Regions from separate parts of the Homo sapiens genome. Here region 2 is linked to region 1. Evidence: promoter capture Hi-C in 16 types of primary human blood cells and fetal thymus (Javierre and others, 2016). All regions are on one chromosome and are shown on one strand. Each heading gives the region's core, a stretch centred on a gene start or on the middle of the fragment in contact. The rest is flanking DNA. Distances are from core to core; before and after follow the strand shown. Region 1 holds the start of FAM120C (family with sequence similarity 120 member C). Region 2 holds the start of MAGED2 (MAGE family member D2).

Region 1 (5,218 bases), core at 1,570-4,069:
GGAGGTGTAGGTTGCAGTGAGCCGAGATCGCGCCACTGTACTCCAGCCTGGACGATAGAGTGAGACTCCATCTCAAAAAAAAAAAAAAGAGAATCACTGCTCTGGCTGATCAATTATGGTCCCTATTCACAGATTTGATCTTCTAGTGATACAGATTCTTTAAAACCTTATTTGACTGCCTGTTGGTTTCATTTTGAGGGGACTCAGAATGCTAAAAACAAGTGCCAAGAATCTTGTCAAGTTAGGCTCTTTGAAGCTTCAGATCTGCTAAAGGAAACAGCCTGGATCATCCTGTTGTGGCTTCTATTCATCACATTTAGGAGCGCTGGAGAACAAGGAGTACTACTTAGGAGGCAGATATAGATAACTTCGTTCCAATTGCCTTGATGCCAGTTTCCTAACTGGTGAAACCTTTGAGACAAAATTGAGATTCTGCTGTAATTCAGCAAGGCCAATGAATATCTGACCCTCAGCAAATGCAGATCTCTTGTTATAAGCAAAAGGGGCTGCTGTTTTGAGTCCCAAGAGCAATAAGCAAATGCTTCACTGCCAAATAACACAGAATGCCAACTTCCTTCCTATCAACTGATGCAGAGGTCTCTGATCTCTATCTGTTCTACATTTTAGGGTCTCTACAAAAAATAAAATTATTCAGGCATGGTGGCATGTGTCTGTAGTCCCAAGCTACTCAGGAGGCTGAGGCTGAAGTCGAGGCTGCAGCGAGCTGTAATCACACCACTGCATTATCTGGAAGCTGGGAATTGAACACAATGAAGACTCTATTTCTCACCTTTGTTCTTCTCTGAAAGTCTGCATTTTTTCTCTCTTTCTGCAGACCAGCATCTTTCACTTCTGTCCCTCTGGTGGGAAAATTGGTTGACAGCTTCCAAGCTTTACACTTAGAGAAAAGCTGGTATCTCTTGTCTAATTGCAAATTTCTAGAAAATGAGATTTTGATTGCCCCAGGTTGGATTAGCTGCCCACCTCTGACCCAATAAGCTATGGTTATAGGAACACGACAGTTTTTGCCATAACCCTATAAATGGGGGAAGGTGGAGGGTCAATTCCCGGAAAAGAGGGGCTGGGCAGACCGTCCCACACGTGTCCATTATACTAAAAAACCTCCATTCCTTCCATCCTTCATCCCTTCAAGCCACTGCTCTCTCCTTTCACTGCTTGCTTTCAAGAGTTAACTATGTACACTGCCTTGCCATCTACTTATTCTTTGACAATCTGGCTTGTTCCATCTCCACTATTTTATAATTTCTTTTATGTAGCTTGAAGCTTTTTTGCTTTTGCATCCTAATAGAGTATTCCCCTATCTCATTCATCCCGATCACTCTTGGGTTCTGCACTTCTGCATTCTAACTCTGCCTGCCATTATCTCCCATCTTCCAGTAAGTTCCAAGCCAGATCTGGCTACTACTCATTTCAGATCTTGTTTTCTGCTTTATTCCTGCTGAAAGAGTGGGCCGGCCCTAAAAGCCAGAAAGAAGACAGGCACTGCATCTGTTTCATCTCAGTATGTTGAAAATACATTTTTCAAAAGATTATGACTCCATACATCTGAAATTAGAGCCCTTGCAGCTATTTAGAAAAGCTCCCGACAGACTAAAACACAATGAAGTTTGGAAACCAAAGGCCCTAACCATAGGACATAGTGGATCTAGGAGTACCAAAAAGGTACAATTTGTAATGTAATTTGTGTTGGTAATTATCTCCCTGCCCAAAGAGATGCTGAGGGCAAGGATATTCGATTTAACTTTGTCTCTGCATTGCCTTAGGCAAGTAAATAATGTAAGTTTCTTTTTATTTATTTATTTATTTTTGAGACGGAGTCTGGCTCTGTCACCAGGCTGGAGTACGGTGACATGATTTTGGCTCACTGCAACCTCCGCCTCCCAGGTTCAAGCGATTCTCCTGCCTCAGCTTCCCCAGTAGCTGGGATTACAGGCACGTGCCACCACGCCCGGCTACTTTTTGTATTTTTAGTAGAGACGGGGTTTCACCATGTTGGCCAGGATGGTCTCGATCTCCTAACCTCGTGATCTGCCCGCCTCGGAGGGATTACAGGCGTGAGCCACCGCGCCCGACCAGTTACGTCTTTCTTAATTGGGACCAACAGCTCTTTAAATATTATCTTTCCACTAAGGGGAAAATCCTCCCTCCTGGGGAGTTTTAGCTCACTTTAGCTGAATTCAGTCAATCCACTCTAACTTCCATTCCCATGATGCATCAATCCATCCCCCAAAACTCTTTTTCCAGGAAAAAGCAGTAAATAACCTAAGCAACTCAGTGAGATGCAAGGAGTTGGAGTGCAACTCCTAAACACTCATCATCACGCCCCGCTTCCTGTGACCCTGTGAGCACAAGGGCTGAGAAGGGTGGTAGTCTGGTTCCTCGACTATATCCTAAGGCCATAGAGAAGACTACAACTACCAAGATGCCCCTCTCCCCGCCCCGCCCCGCCCCTCCTCGCTCCCCTTCCTCCAGCTAGAAAGCGTGTACCACCGAGAAGACGAGGCAACATGGCTCCCGGAGGTGGAAGAAAGAGGCTTCACCCCTTCTAAAGCGGGAAGAAGAGCGGCCGGAAAGGAGAAAAAAGAGAAGTGACTAGAGCCCATCCTCGCTTTTATCCTCCCAGCCTCTCCCGGGTCCGGTCTGCCCCTCCCCTTCTCTCTACCCAAATCCAATTTGTGGTCTCCTCCCCTCCCCGCCCTCATTCCCTCGCTTCCTCACCCCTCCCCTCGGGAATCCTTTTCCCGCCCCCCCTCGCCCCCCGCGGAGTGCGCACGCGCCCGCCCCCAGCTTCGCGCCCAGATCGTCGCCTATCCTGCTTGCGCAGCCGCTATCGCGTCTGCCCACCGACGAAGCATGGGTGTCCAGGGCTTCCAAGAGTTCCTGGAGAAGCGCTGTCCCGGGGCCGTGGTGCCCGTGGACCTCCTAAAACTCGCGCGCACGGTCTCGCGCCAGCAGCAGCAGCAGCACTTGCACCGCCAGCTGCCGCCGACTGCAGCCCTAGCGCCCGGGGCTCCACGCGCCGCCAGGGGCTCCGTGCCTCTGCAACCGCCGCTTCCGCCCGCTGCCTTGGGTGCCTACTCCGGGGGCGCGGGGCCGACTCGGCACCATCACCCCGCTCACCACTTCCACCATCATGGCCAAGCGCAGCCCGGGCTGCACCCTCCGCTGCCGCCGCCGCCGCCCCCTCAGCTGCCCGGGGCCCGGGTGCTGGTGGACGCCGGCTCGGCGCTGCCGCGGCTCTATGGCGGCTACCAGACGGATTGGGTGTGTGGCGGCCAATGGAACGCCATGCTGGGCTACTTGTCAGCGCTGTGCCAGGCTTGTGCCTATCCTGGCGGCGACGGCCTGGAGCTCGTGGTCATGTTCCCGGGGGGCCTGGGCAAGGACCGGCTGGCCGAGTGGGGCCGTCGGTGCCAGGCCGAGCGGCAGACAGCGCAACTGATCGTGGGACACGTGGGCAACAAGGGCACCCCTCCACCGCGGGCCTGGTTCCTGCCACCGGCCTGCCTGAGCCACTGCGTGAGGCTAGCACTCATCCGCTTCCGGGTCAAGGTGAGGGAGGGGCCGGATCTTAAATAATAAGCCCCACACCTATTCCCTCCCAACTAAATACCTAACCACCTACCCACTTACCCACTACCCTACCTCCCATCTACCCACCCACCTACCCGCCCAACAGCTAACCTACCTGCCTAACTACCCTCTACCATTTTATCCATTTACCTCCCCCTTCATACCACCCCCTACGGATTCACTCACCTACATGGCCATATCTCTACTCATGTCATCCCAGTAGCTCCCTTTAGCTTCCCTTATCCAATTGGCCTACCACTAGGTTTCAGCAGAATCTAGTCAGAATTTCTTTTGTAGCCTCATCTTTCTCCTGGTGTCTTCTGCCTCAAACTGAAATGCCTTTACCCTGCTTTTGCCAGTTGACATCTCTCTCCTGTATCTCTTTCCAACCTCGCAGTAAATCACTTAAGCAGGTGTGAACTGAACACCTTTCTTCTACATTGTTTTTCCGTCTTCACCCACTGCTGCTTTTTTACCCATCTGTGTCCATTCAGCCTTTTTCATTTCAACATGCATCTTCTTCCTCCTGCCTTAGCCTAAACACATAAAAACCCACTGATTCAGTCACTGTTCAGCAAGTATTAACTCACTGAGTGTAAGGGTTTTAAAGACATGTGAGACACTGCTCATGCCCTTGGAAAGTTAAATGTATACACATGAAACATTTAATTATAGCAATGTGTATGTGATTATGCCTTATGGTCCAGACAGTAAGTACAGTTCCTGTTTTCTGTATGTGGGAGTGGTGGGATATCTTTGGACTAAAGTGGTCAGGGGAGGCTTCCCTGAAGAAGTCGGACCTCACCTGGGTCTTCAAAGGTGGATTGGATTTGAATGAGTCACAAGCTTGGGAGGAGGCTGCTTTAAGTGGGAGGAAGAAAATGAGCAGAAGCAAAAAGGAATATTAAGTGTGCAAGGCCCCATAGGCAGTTAAGTCCAATCTGCATGTAGTTGGGTCACTGCATATGGGGCCTGGGGAACAGCTTGGCAGCATCCCCAGTTCTTGGCACCACTGCTGCTGCTCTGTTGCTTTCCCATACTCTTAGGTTTCAAGTTCCTACGTGTAGAGAATAGCAAGGCTTGGGAAGTAAAGGAGGTGGGCAGGAAGAAGAAAAAGAAAAGTAGTACAGGGTTGGGTAGAAAGAAACCGCAAACCTATTTCCCCAACCAAGGTTCTTGGGGGTTGTCCTTACAGTTAGACAGAACAGGGGATTGTGGGAATCACTTAAGAAGTGGTGTCGGCTGGAGTAATGAGGAGGAAAGAAATTTTAGCTCAGAGACTAAAAGACCTAAACAGAGAAGCTTGCAGTGGTTATAGAGCTTGTGGCTAGAGTCCAGTCATGCTAGACTCGTTCTCAGCATCAAATCTGTGCCTAGAGTGCCTAGATTATAGTTGTTTTAATTTAAACTAATCCAAACGTGAGCTATCTCATACAAGGTTAAAAAAAAAAAAAAAGGCACACATTTGCTTGCTCTTCTGACTGAACATTTTAAGGTAGATTCTTTATTCATGGCCATTCTTTCCACTTTGTTTTCACTGCTACCACCCAGGCTTTTAAGGACTTTTTAACCTCGTTGTTATTAACCTGGTTGCTGGCAATAGTGACCACATTGATGGAATATT
Region 2 (3,463 bases), core at 1-2,500, 630 kb before region 1:
CTGAACCCTGGATTTGTTTCTCACTGACTTCCAAGCAGGTGTTTCATCTGCCTAGCAGGCCAGGAGCAAACCAAGGGTGGGTGGAGGCTGAGTCTTCTTCTCTTTCTGTGCCCACTACTGGCTCTGCTTGAACCATCCTAGACAAGCCGCTTCACCTCTCTGGAACTCAGCTTCCTTCTCCATAAAATTGGGGCTATGAGAATTACTTTCAAGATTTAATGAGATAACCTGCATAAATGTGCTTAGCTCAAGGCCTAATACAGGGCAGCTACTATGTAAACATAAACTGCATTACATTCAGATTGCACCTCCCCATCAGTCTGCAAGCTCTCTGAAGACAGGAATTACATCACATTACTCTCAGTGCCCCCCACAGCCCTGATGAGCACAGGGATCTTTCTAAATGTTTGTAGAACAAATGAATCAACTGAGAGAGGAGTAGAAAACCAAGGGTGGTGACTGCAGAGGTCTTACCTTTCGGGCTTTCTTGGCTTTGACCTTGGGCCGAGTATCCTGATTCTCCTGAGACTGGGCAGCTGCACTCTCAGGCTCAGGTTCATCTGCTGGGGCCTGAGAGGGTGCAGCCTCAGTCTCCTGAGCCTTTGTATTGACCTTTGTATCAGCCACATGGCTGACCTTTTTGGTCTCAGTGGCAGGCATTGTCACAGCCTGCGGGTCAGCATTCTGTTTCTTGGTGTCAGCTGCTAGACTCTTGTTTTCAGCTGCCAGAACCTGGGTATCAGTCAGCTGAGTAGTAGATGAGGCCTGGGTGGCAGGTGCCTCCCGAGCCTCTGGGGTCTTTGAGACCTCTGTGGCCTTTGAGACCCCAGAGGCTTTTGAGACCTTCACATCCTCTGAGACCTCCAGTGCCTTTGAGGCCTTCGGTGTCTCTGGGACCTCCACATTCTGGGTCACTGTCAACAGAGTCTGCATCATCGAGCTACTGTCCTTTTCTGAAGCTTCAGCCTGCAAGAGGAAGCAGGGAAGTTCATAGACCTTCTCCTCACCCCCAACTAAGCAAATGGCTCCAAAATTCCAAGGCCACACTTCTCTGACCTGTACTGACTCCTACCTGCGGTGTGCTCTGACCACCTCAGCCCAACAAGGCCTCCCTTTCCTCTGAGCAAGAACTGATGGCAGAAGAGGGGCCCGCCCACCTTCTCTCCCTCCCTCCACTGGGCAGGGGGACACCCAGGCAGGAAAGTAGGTGGAGAAGGACAAGGATGGGAGGGGAAGAGCCAAGGGACTTGGGGGCAGCAACAAGGGCTGGAGAGGAAAAGCAGCTGGGGAAAGGACAGAAAGAGGCCTTACCTGGAAGCGAGTTAGACCTGCACCACTCTCGCTTGTGTCAGACATGTCTCAATTTGGCCTGGCAAGAGCTGAGCCTGAAGGGGAGAAGGCCTGGGTCAAGTTGAAGCCCACTGAACGTCCTCTCCCCTGTTGTGCCTGGAGGCTGATCCTCACCTTCCGTAGGTCCCCAATTCCAACCCCCTCCACCACCCCCAACGACTCCGTTCTCAGATACAGGAATTCAAAGCTTCTAAGTCTCAATTCTCTGCAGCCGCACCCTCCCCTTCTCCAGGAAGATGTGCCAGCGCGGCAGCTCTGAGGACCCCGCCCCTTTTCCCAGTGCACCCCCCACCCAGCCGCAGGTCGATAGAGCGCATGCGCGTCGGCTGCAGGGCCGCTCTCAGCCCCGCCCGCTTTCCCAGCACGAGCCCTTTCTTTGATGTCCACCGTGCACATGCGCATTCAGCAGCTGGCTCTTCTCAGTGCTGGCCCTTCTCAACACGCCCCTTTCTAGCGAAACATAGTGCGCATGCGCAATGGTCGTGGTCTCAGTCTGGCACTCTGCCCCAACACACGCCCCTCTCCAGGTCCGCAGTACCATTCGGTCCCGCCCCCTGCCCAACAAGCCTTCCTCCAAAATTGTCGCAGTGTCTGGTGGACCCGGCCCCTCCCCTACTCACGCCCTACAGAGTCCAGTGTCTCTTGGCCCCGCCCTTCTTCCTAACACGCCCCCCTCCAAACAGGCGCATCTTGGTTCCGCCCCTTCCCTATTACACCCCCTCCTCAAATAAATACTGAGCTAGTGATTCCATCTTGGGCCCGGCCAAACCGGGTCCAGTCCCCTCCCTTCCCAGCCGGATGGATCCGGTACGATCCGGTCCTTAAGGCAGGTTTTCTCCAGATCCCAGAGGGTGGGGCCGACCCCTAGCGGGGCTCTCATCCAAAAGCCGACCCGGCTGCTCACCTCGTCCTCCTACAATTCCCGAGTGCGTCCACTCACTCCAAGCCCCTCCGAAACTCGGAGACTGCCCTCCCCTCTCTAGGCCGGAAGTGGTCCCGCCCCTTTCCGCCTCCCTAGGGGGCCTCCGTCCCAGCCTGTCTGCCCCTCCCCCGCTCCCTGCTCCTCATTCCTTATGCCCCCCTCCGTATTCCCTTAGCCTGGCTCCCTACTCCCTATTCCTACCTCACATTTCCTATTTACTCCAGAATTCCTTCTTCCCATTTCTTACATCCTCCTCCGTGTTACGTTTGCACACCCTGCCCCTCAGTATTCCTTAATCCCTCTCTGCATCCCCGATTCTCTTCTCTGGATCTTCACTCCCCCTCAGTGTTCCCCTCCCTCCTTGTATTCCTCGTCCCCCTCCCAACATTCCTGGTTCCCCGTTTTTCTCCCCTCCTCCCTCCGCTAGTCTCTGCTCCCAGTCTGTACAGCCTACTACTTTCTCAGTCGTCCTCATTGCCTACACCCCACTCCAGGTCACCTCTGCTTCAGCTGCAGTGGTGCAGTAAGAATTGCTCATCTGCCTGGCTATGGGTTCGAGGGGTCTGGAACCACTGTCTGACCTCCATAAAACCCCAATATCAACGCCCCTCACCTTGTCCTCCAGCGAGTTCGGGATGCGTCTGCCTTCTCTAAGTCCCTCTCGAAGTCTCAGCCTCCTGGACTAGAGCTGCAGACAGCCCAACCCAGCCCAGCCCCTTTCCGCAGCCCCCTGCCACCCCCCCTCGCCTTCCTCGGGGGTGGGGCAATGGGGCCCCGCTCAGGGCTGTCTGACGCCAAAGCCCATGTTTATGCCACTGTACCAGGCTCAGTCTGAAGCTCTTCCAACTCAAACCGCCCCCTGAAAGCAAGTCATTCATTGAATTTATTTTTATATCTTCATTTTTTCTTATTACAAAGGTAATATGTTGTTCTTTTGTTGTTGTTGTAAAAATTCAAACAATGCAGTAATATATAACACACCAATGAAAGGCCACTCATCTCCCAGAAATAACCACTATTAACATTTTGCTATCCAGATTTTTTTTCTATTCGTATACTAATTATTCAGGTTCTCTCTCCGACAAATGGTACACTATACATACCTTCTGTTCTGCGACCTGTTTTTTTCCAGTTATATATAAAACATCTTTCCGTTAGTGCACATTTTTCTAAACAGCTGCATGATCTTTT

What was found. The method cuts DNA at HindIII sites, captures the fragments that hold promoters and counts their contacts. A CHiCAGO score of 5 or more calls a contact.
Region 2: a contact is called between a fragment that was not itself captured here and the fragment with the promoter of FAM120C in region 1, in 11 of 17 cell types (fetal thymus, activated CD4 T cells, naive CD8 T cells and 8 more). The highest score is 13.1, in fetal thymus.

The regions. Positions count from the first base shown.
Region 1 is chrX:54,180,855-54,186,072 of GRCh38, reverse strand. FAM120C (family with sequence similarity 120 member C) reads left to right here and starts at 2,819. Exons shown (of 16, transcript NM_017848.6): 1 at 2,819-3,573. The coding sequence starts at 2,875. RefSeq lists silencers at 2,387-2,486, 3,057-3,266, 3,277-3,326. The HindIII fragment of the contact is 3,156 bases long and covers 1,287-4,442 here.
Region 2 is chrX:54,807,225-54,810,687 of GRCh38, reverse strand. MAGED2 (MAGE family member D2) reads right to left here and starts at 2,943. Exons shown (of 13, transcript NM_177433.3): 1 at 2,886-2,943; 2 at 1,312-1,385; 3 at 475-966. The coding sequence starts at 1,356. The HindIII fragment of the contact is 578 bases long and covers 962-1,539 here.